2 separate regions of the Homo sapiens genome follow, and region 1 is linked to region 2. The links are contacts of gene promoters, found by promoter capture Hi-C in human tissues and cell types (Jung and others, 2019). All regions are on one chromosome and are shown on one strand. Each heading gives the region's core, a stretch centred on a gene start or on the middle of the fragment in contact. The rest is flanking DNA. Distances are from core to core; before and after follow the strand shown. Region 1 overlaps PHF24 (PHD finger protein 24). Region 2 holds the start of CCL21 (C-C motif chemokine ligand 21).

What was found. The method cuts DNA at HindIII sites, captures the fragments that hold promoters and counts their contacts. A contact is called where the count stands out against the background at its distance.
Region 1: a contact is called between a fragment that was not itself captured here and the fragment with the promoter of CCL21 in region 2, in 1 of the 25 tissues and cell types used here (dorsolateral prefrontal cortex).

What each region holds. Positions count from the first base shown.
Region 1 is chr9:34,974,286-34,978,163 of GRCh38, reverse strand. It overlaps PHF24 (PHD finger protein 24), which reads right to left. Exons shown (of 8, transcript NM_015297.3): 4 at 1,934-2,012; 5 at 1,424-1,629; 6 at 921-1,081; 7 at 523-618; 8 at 1-149. The coding sequence ends at 53. Among named protein-coding and RNA genes, the nearest start is that of DNAJB5-DT, 13 kb to the left of the region's middle. The HindIII fragment of the contact is 7,622 bases long and covers 1-3,878 here.
Region 2 is chr9:34,707,938-34,711,759 of GRCh38, reverse strand. CCL21 (C-C motif chemokine ligand 21) reads left to right here and starts at 1,624. Exons shown (of 4, transcript NM_002989.4): 1 at 1,624-1,760; 2 at 1,863-1,983; 3 at 2,078-2,260; 4 at 2,333-2,755. The coding sequence starts at 1,694. The coding sequence ends at 2,366. It also overlaps a transcript of PHF24 not described here. The HindIII fragment of the contact is 9,492 bases long and covers 1-3,822 here.

The sequences.
Region 1 (3,878 bases), core at 584-3,083, 270 kb before region 2:
GAAAGGAGGGAGAGGATGTCACTGTCCTCAAACCGAGCTTCTCTGCTCCATGCTATCCTGGGGGCTTCAGGTGAATGGCTGCGCTGTTGGGGCGAGCAGCCAGGATGTAGAGGACATTCTCTTGCAGGAAGGTAGGCCAGTCCACAAATCTGGAGTGGAAGCAAAGAACAGAGTCGTGAGGCTGGTTTGAAGACACGTGAGCCCTGATCCCAGGGGCAGCATGGCTTGAGGAGGCTGGTTTGAAGACGCGTGAGCCCTGATCCCAGGGGCAGCATGGCTTGAGCTACACAAAACTCAGGGAAGCTTGGCTCATGCCTGACCTGGCTATGGCTGGCTGTGCTACCAGGCCAACAGACCAGCTGGCTGGTCCTATAGACTTGGGTCAAATGTGCACTCTTGGAGCCTGGTTTCTTGGGTGGGCGCTTGCTGTTTTGGAGTGGGAGTGGGTAATGCCCTCTCTTACTTGTGTGTTTTGTGGGGGTTCAGAGGGTACAAATGGCCAGGTGAGGAGGTCCTACTCACCTGGACTCCTGCTCTGTGGGCAGCAGGGTCTTGTCCTGACTCTTGCTGCTGCTGCTGGCTGGGCTGCTATCTGCGATGGGACCCACATGGCTGATGCTGCTGGGCATGAGGACACGTGGTTAGGAGTGGGATAGTGAAATGCCTGCCCCCTCCCAAACTCTGGTAAGCCCAAGGCTCTGGACATGCTCATCCAGGCTCTTCTGACATGTGGCAACACCGAGTTGAAGGCAGAGGCTGTCCTATGCCCTGGCCCGTAGGCATCACCATCCTCTACCTAATGCACAGGAGGCTCCTCTCTCGGCTGTTGGCAGGGGGAGCAGGGAGGTATGGAAGGGCCACTGGCATGGAAAAGGGAGGAGGAGAGGCTGAGTGGGGACCAGGACTGGTAAGGAGCAGACCTGACACTGCAGGAAGGAGCCTCTGGGAACCGTTTGCAAAACCAAGAGTGCTGGGCCCGGCGGCACTCTGCCTCACTGACGGTGCTCCCACTGCCCCGAGCCAGGAAGGCGGCTCGGGCTCGCTCCCGCTCCTTCACTGTCAGAAGCCTCAACAGAGAGTTCTGGGGAAGAAGAGACAAGATCTTAGAGGTGAAGATATCTTGTAAACTGCCAAGCCATAGAGAATCCTATCTCCATTACCACCTTTGCAACCTCCCTTAGAAGCTGCCCAGAGCCCTTCTGGAGGCATCAGCACTTCCAGTGCGGCCCAGGGCAGATCAGTCTTCCTCACGCAGTTTCCTCAGCCTGGGCACCAGATCATCTGTCACTGGATGGAACCTGAGCCCATTCCTGATACTTGTCCCTGCTTGAGCAGGACCCAGTGCTCCCCCAATCTGCCCAGCGTGCCTCCCAGGCCCTTGTCACCCAGTATCCCAGGAACATTTGCCCCAACTGGCCCTCACCTGGGGACGCAACTGCTGCAGAAGCAGGAGGGACTCATGGGACAAGAAGTCAGGCCACTCTATGTGGCCTCGATGTTCAGGGTCCAGGGCAGCAAACTGGCGGGCCGCCTGCTCTTCTTGCTCCTCACTCAGGGCCCTGTCACGGTCCCCCCGCTTGGCTGCTTGGTGGCGGTAACGCAGAAAGTCCTCCAGTGTCAGGGAGCAATCTGTGGGAGGCACCCCGTGCTAGCCATGCCCATCCTTCCTCAGCCTCAGGGCACCTCCATCACCTCCAGGGCACCCTCGGGGCCCCCAAACCCACAGCTCTTGCTAAGTCTCTGCCTCCCATGGCCAGGGTCACCCAGGCTGTGACAGGGATAGGTGACTCTGCTGGCCAACAACTCAGGAACAAGGACTCATTTACCCTCTACCCACTAAATATGGAACACTCCTTTCATGGTTCATTCTAGAAAGCCTGAAGGAGAAATCTGCCCGGCCCCTCTCCATCCATGCAGCACCACCCAACCTTACCAGGGATGACTTTACACCGCTGAAAGGTCTCCGTGAGGCTATACATTTCCTCCTCAGTAAGCAGCAAGTTGATGTTGTCCTGAAAATAAGGAAGAGCTGAGTCGGTGGCCATACAGGCCAGTAAGAAAGGCCAGGGTCAAGGGGGCTAGAAATAGAATTTCAACTGGAAAGCAGTTCCAAGATCATCTAATCCCAGCCTCCTATTCACAATCAATGAGATTGAGGCCCCAGAGAGGAGAAAGGACTTGGCCAGAGTTGTCTTTACTCTGGGGCAGAATCTTCCCCAAGAACCCAGATATCCTGACTCCAGCACTGAGTCCCTTTACTAAAACAGTGGTTTTCTCCTCTGAGCTAACCTAGGGATTTCTTGGAAGTGCCTTAGGAAGCTGCTGCAGGGAATAAGGGGGCTAGTGAGTAGGCAGGTTGTGAATCCCTATCTCCATCAAGCAGAGCGGCTCCATCTCCATCCCTTTTATCTACTTGGCTTCTGTGTTAGGCTGTGCTAAAAATGTATTTTAGTTAAAAAAAAAAAAAGTTTAATCCTAGCTCTGCTCCAAGTGGGTTGTATCACTTTAAATAACCCCAGAATGGTTTTAAAAGATGCCATTATTACAAGGCTCCTAAAGCCAAATGAGTTTTTTTGTAGTGCCACAGAAGTTTTAATTCCAAAGGAGCACCAATATCTTATTGTGTTGACGTTACCATACAGTCTTTAAACTATCAAAGATCCTTTCTAGTACAAGGTCATTTTCTTCCTCTGAGATACCCGCAAAGTACAAGAGCAGATATTTCATGAGTATTCATACGTGGATTTCATAAAGAACTCAAACCATTCTTTTTCTTCCATAACACTTTTTAAAAACTAATATATAATAGTTGTATTTTTCTTTCAAACCATACTTTCAATAAACACCTACTGAGCACCTAGTAAACACTGGGCGCCACAGTGGTGTGTAACACTGTGAGATGTTCAGTGTGGCTGAGGTTTGGAGTACATGTGAGTGTGTGTGTGAGGGAAGGAGGGGGCCTACTATGAAGTACCTCCAATACCCTTTATCGAGCCCCTCAAATTAGGCCTTTATTCTGAGGGCAAAAGGGAGCCACCAAAGGGTTTTCAAGTGGGGAGTGCCGTGGTCAGATCTCTGGCTGCTGTGTGGAAGATGGATTAGAGCGGCAGAGTCTGGAGGTGTGGAGAGCAGTTGGGGGCTGCCGCAACAGTCCAGGCAAGAAATGATGAGCAGCTAAACTGAGACATGAGAATGAAGAAGGGAAGAGAGATATTAGAGGCAGCATCATCAGGACCTGATGACTCACTGGATGTGAGGCATGAGGGAGAGATTGAACTGGAATTGGTAACTGGGGCATGGTATTACTATTCACAGAGATAAGGAGTGGAGGAAGAGCAGGTTTGGGGGCAAAGATGAGTTCATTTTGGGGCATGATGAGTGTGAAGTACTTGTGAGATATCAAGGTGGATAAGTGCAAGAGACAGGAAATTTAGGTCTGGACACACAGAAATAGGAGTCATTAGTGTTTAGATGGTGGCTGTAGATGAAGTCACCAAAGAGGGCGCAGTGAGAAAAGAAGAGTATTAAACAACAGAACCCTGAGAAACAGGACTGAGACAAGAAACTAACAAAGGGCATTGAGAAAGAATGGTCAGAGACTAAGGCTGGAAGAGCATCAGTAGAGAAGAAGGTACTGGATACCAAGCAAAGACAGCTGCAGAATGTGGGAGGTAATGTTAACGGTGGTTACACCACTGAGGTGGGATTTTATTGACTTTCTATTTTCTCTCATTTCCATATCTTATGCAATAATTCTCATAAAAATACTTAAATCCTAAAGAAAAGAGAGAGGAATAAAGAAGTAATAAATACTTCAGAGAGATCAAGTAAGAAGATGCCTCAGAAAAGGTCAGTGGACTTGACAATTAGGAGGTGAC
Region 2 (3,822 bases), core at 375-2,874:
ACCAACCAGGCCAACATGGTGAAACCCCATCTCTACAAAAAATAGAAAAATTAGCTGGATGTGGTGACAGGTGCCCATAATCCCAGTTACTCGGGAGGCTGAGGCAGGAGAATGGCTTGAACCCGGAGGGTGGAGGTTGCAGTGAGCCAAGATCACGCCACTGCACTCCAGCCTGGGCGAAAGAGTGAGACTCTGTCTCAAAAAAAAAAAAAAAAAAGTAACAACATTGCCAGGTATGCTGGTTCACACTTGTAATCCCATTACTTTGGGAGGCCAAGGCGGGTGAATTGCTTGAGGTCAGGCGTTCGAGACTAGCCTGGGCAACATAGTGAGACCTCGTGTCTACAAAAAATACAAAAATTAGCCAGGCATGGTGGCCCCACTACTCAGGAGACTGAGGTGGAAGGATCACTTGAGCCCAGGAGGTCGAGGCTGCTGTGAGCTGAGATTGTGCCACCGCACTCCAGCCTGGGTGACAAAGCGAGACCCTGTGTCAAAAAAAAAAAAAAAGATAAAAGCTAGTATTGTATTTTTAGTTTGTAGCCCCACTTTTTTCTATATAATTTAAAAGGAAAATGCATTAAACAATAATTATAAATCTATGTCAATGGGAACACAATGTATAAAGATGTAATCTGTGACAATAACAATATAAAGAAGGGACTAAAATGTATACGAGCAAAATGTTTATATACCATTGAAACTAAGTTGGTATTATTCAAACTAGGTTGTTATCAGTTTAGAATGTTAATTATAATCACCAAGGTATCCATTAGGAAAATAACTACAAAATATATAGAAAAGGAAAGCAAAGGGGAATCAAAATGGTTATGCTACAGACCAGGTGCAGTCGCTCATACCTATAATTCCAGCACTTTGGGTGGCCAAGGCAGGAGGATCGCTTGAGCCCAGGAGTTCAAGACCAGACTGGGCAACATAGCAAGACCTCATCTCTAGAAAAAATAAAAATGAAAAATGAAAACAGTAGCCGGACGTAGTGGCATGTGCCTGTGGTCCCAGCTCCTCAAGAGGCTGAGGCAGGCAGATCATTTGAGCCCAGGAGCTCAAGACTAGCCTGGGCTAGACATCGTGAAACCTCGTCTCTACAAAAAAAAAATAGAAAAATCAGCCAGGCGCAGTGGTGCTTGCCTGTAGTCCCAGCTCCTGGGGAGGTTGAGGTAGGAGGATCACTCGAGCCCAGGAGGCGGAGATTTCAGTGAGCCAAGATCAACCACTGCACTCCAGCCTGGGTGACAGAGTTAGACCCTGTCTCAAAAAAAAAAAAAAAAAAAAGAACTCTTACAATTTAATAATCAGATTTGCTGGAAGGAGGGGAAGGGTATGGATCCTGGAGCGTAGTGAGGAGACAGTCATGGTGTTCCAGGGGAGAGGCAGTGAGGCCTGCATGAAAGCAGTAGCTGGGAATAGAAGGAAGGCTCAGGCCCAGACATATTCAACTAATGAGGACATAAAATTTGGCAGCTGAGGACTGTCCACTTAGTTTGAGATAAGTGGGGCTGGGTGCCAGCAAATCCAGCTTTCAGGAAGGAAAAGGAGTGGGGATAAGTTAAGGGAAGTGAAAGTGTCTAGCTACATAAATAGCAGGCCAATCCCAGCCCACGCACAGACCCCCAACTTGCAGCTGCCCACCTCACCCTCAGCTCTGGCCTCTTACTCACCCTCTACCACAGACATGGCTCAGTCACTGGCTCTGAGCCTCCTTATCCTGGTTCTGGCCTTTGGCATCCCCAGGACCCAAGGTACCAAGGCAGGGAGGGGCCTTGCATGGGGCTAAGGGGATCAAGAGGCCTGGATAGGAGCTTGCCAGCAGCCCCTGGCTCCCTGTGAATCCCACCCTGCAGGCAGTGATGGAGGGGCTCAGGACTGTTGCCTCAAGTACAGCCAAAGGAAGATTCCCGCCAAGGTTGTCCGCAGCTACCGGAAGCAGGAACCAAGCTTAGGCTGCTCCATCCCAGCTATCCTGTGAGTGGACACAAAGGGGTGGGTACTGGCTGGTGACGGGGTGGGGAGGGCATGGTGGGCAAGACTAAGAAGGCTTACTAGCCCCCACCCGCAGGTTCTTGCCCCGCAAGCGCTCTCAGGCAGAGCTATGTGCAGACCCAAAGGAGCTCTGGGTGCAGCAGCTGATGCAGCATCTGGACAAGACACCATCCCCACAGAAACCAGCCCAGGGCTGCAGGAAGGACAGGGGGGCCTCCAAGACTGGCAAGAAAGGAAAGGGCTCCAAAGGCTGCAAGAGGTGAGGAATCTGAGGGATGTGGGTAAAGGGGAGCCTCAGTCAGCCCCTCACACCCCTCTTCTGCCCTCACAGGACTGAGCGGTCACAGACCCCTAAAGGGCCATAGCCCAGTGAGCAGCCTGGAGCCCTGGAGACCCCACCAGCCTCACCAGCGCTTGAAGCCTGAACCCAAGATGCAAGAAGGAGGCTATGCTCAGGGGCCCTGGAGCAGCCACCCCATGCTGGCCTTGCCACACTCTTTCTCCTGCTTTAACCACCCCATCTGCATTCCCAGCTCTACCCTGCATGGCTGAGCTGCCCACAGCAGGCCAGGTCCAGAGAGACCGAGGAGGGAGAGTCTCCCAGGGAGCATGAGAGGAGGCAGCAGGACTGTCCCCTTGAAGGAGAATCATCAGGACCCTGGACCTGATACGGCTCCCCAGTACACCCCACCTCTTCCTTGTAAATATGATTTATACCTAACTGAATAAAAAGCTGTTCTGTCTTCCCACCCAAGTACCTGTTCCCATGTGTTTATGTCCACCGAGATGCCAAGGTTCCTACAGGGTGGGGTCACACACTCTGAGCCGAAAGCTCAGGCTGAAAAATGCTATGTTCTCATCTACCCCAAGAGTTTCCTTGCCTCTCAGGTGCCTGCACCCCTGAGCAGTTAAAGGGAGGCTGAAGGACAGGGTAGGACCCAGTCTTCTGAGGCATCCTGCCAATGGAGAGGTGGTGGACATGGAGCACACACCCCCAACAGCTCTGCAGACCTCTGAGACCCTGATTCTGTCCTGCACTAACTCCAGGGGTGACCTTCGGATCTTTTCCATGACCTTCAGACCTTTCCCCAGATATCCCAGAGGCTTCCTCTCTTTTCCCTGGGAACTATTCAATGAGACCCTCCAAGTGGTTCTTTGGAAGGGTCCCTAGGAGGGAAGCTGTGGCTTGGGCCCATCTATAACACAGACAAACACAAGTTATATTGAAACCTGCCCTAGCACAGTTCCAGCCCTGAGAGAGCCCCTGGGAGGCAAAGACCCGAGGGGACTTGCTTCAGCCCTATTCAGTGAAGCTCGGGCCTTGACCTCTCCTCTTTGTTTAATGGGGCTGTTGTGCTCTCCTTCTATTCCTATCTGGGCCCCTGGACTCACTCAGCCTCCTTCCAGATGGAAAAACCTCCTCCCTTTTTTTTTCCTCCTTTCTTTCCTGGCTGGGATCCAGACTACTTTAGCCCATTTAACCCTTTGAAGTCAAGGAATAAGTCTCCTGGGGCAGGTTTTCAGAACCCCAGGATTCAGGTGTGAATCAGTCTCCTCTCCTGGAAGGCCTCAGATGGCTCTCCTCTACCTCTTCCTCCCCAGAGTGAAGACCCTTCTATTCCCCAAATCACCTCCAGGCGGGGAGAGTAGAAGCCATCAGATTGGGCCAGACAATGTGAGAAAGAAGGGAACAGATCCTGGGGAAGGGCAAGAAAGGTAGGAACCTCAAGGCCGGGCGCGGTGGCTCAGGCCTGTAATCCCAGCACTTTGGGAGGCCAAGGCAGGCGGATCATGAGGTCAGGAGTTCCTGACCAGCCTGGC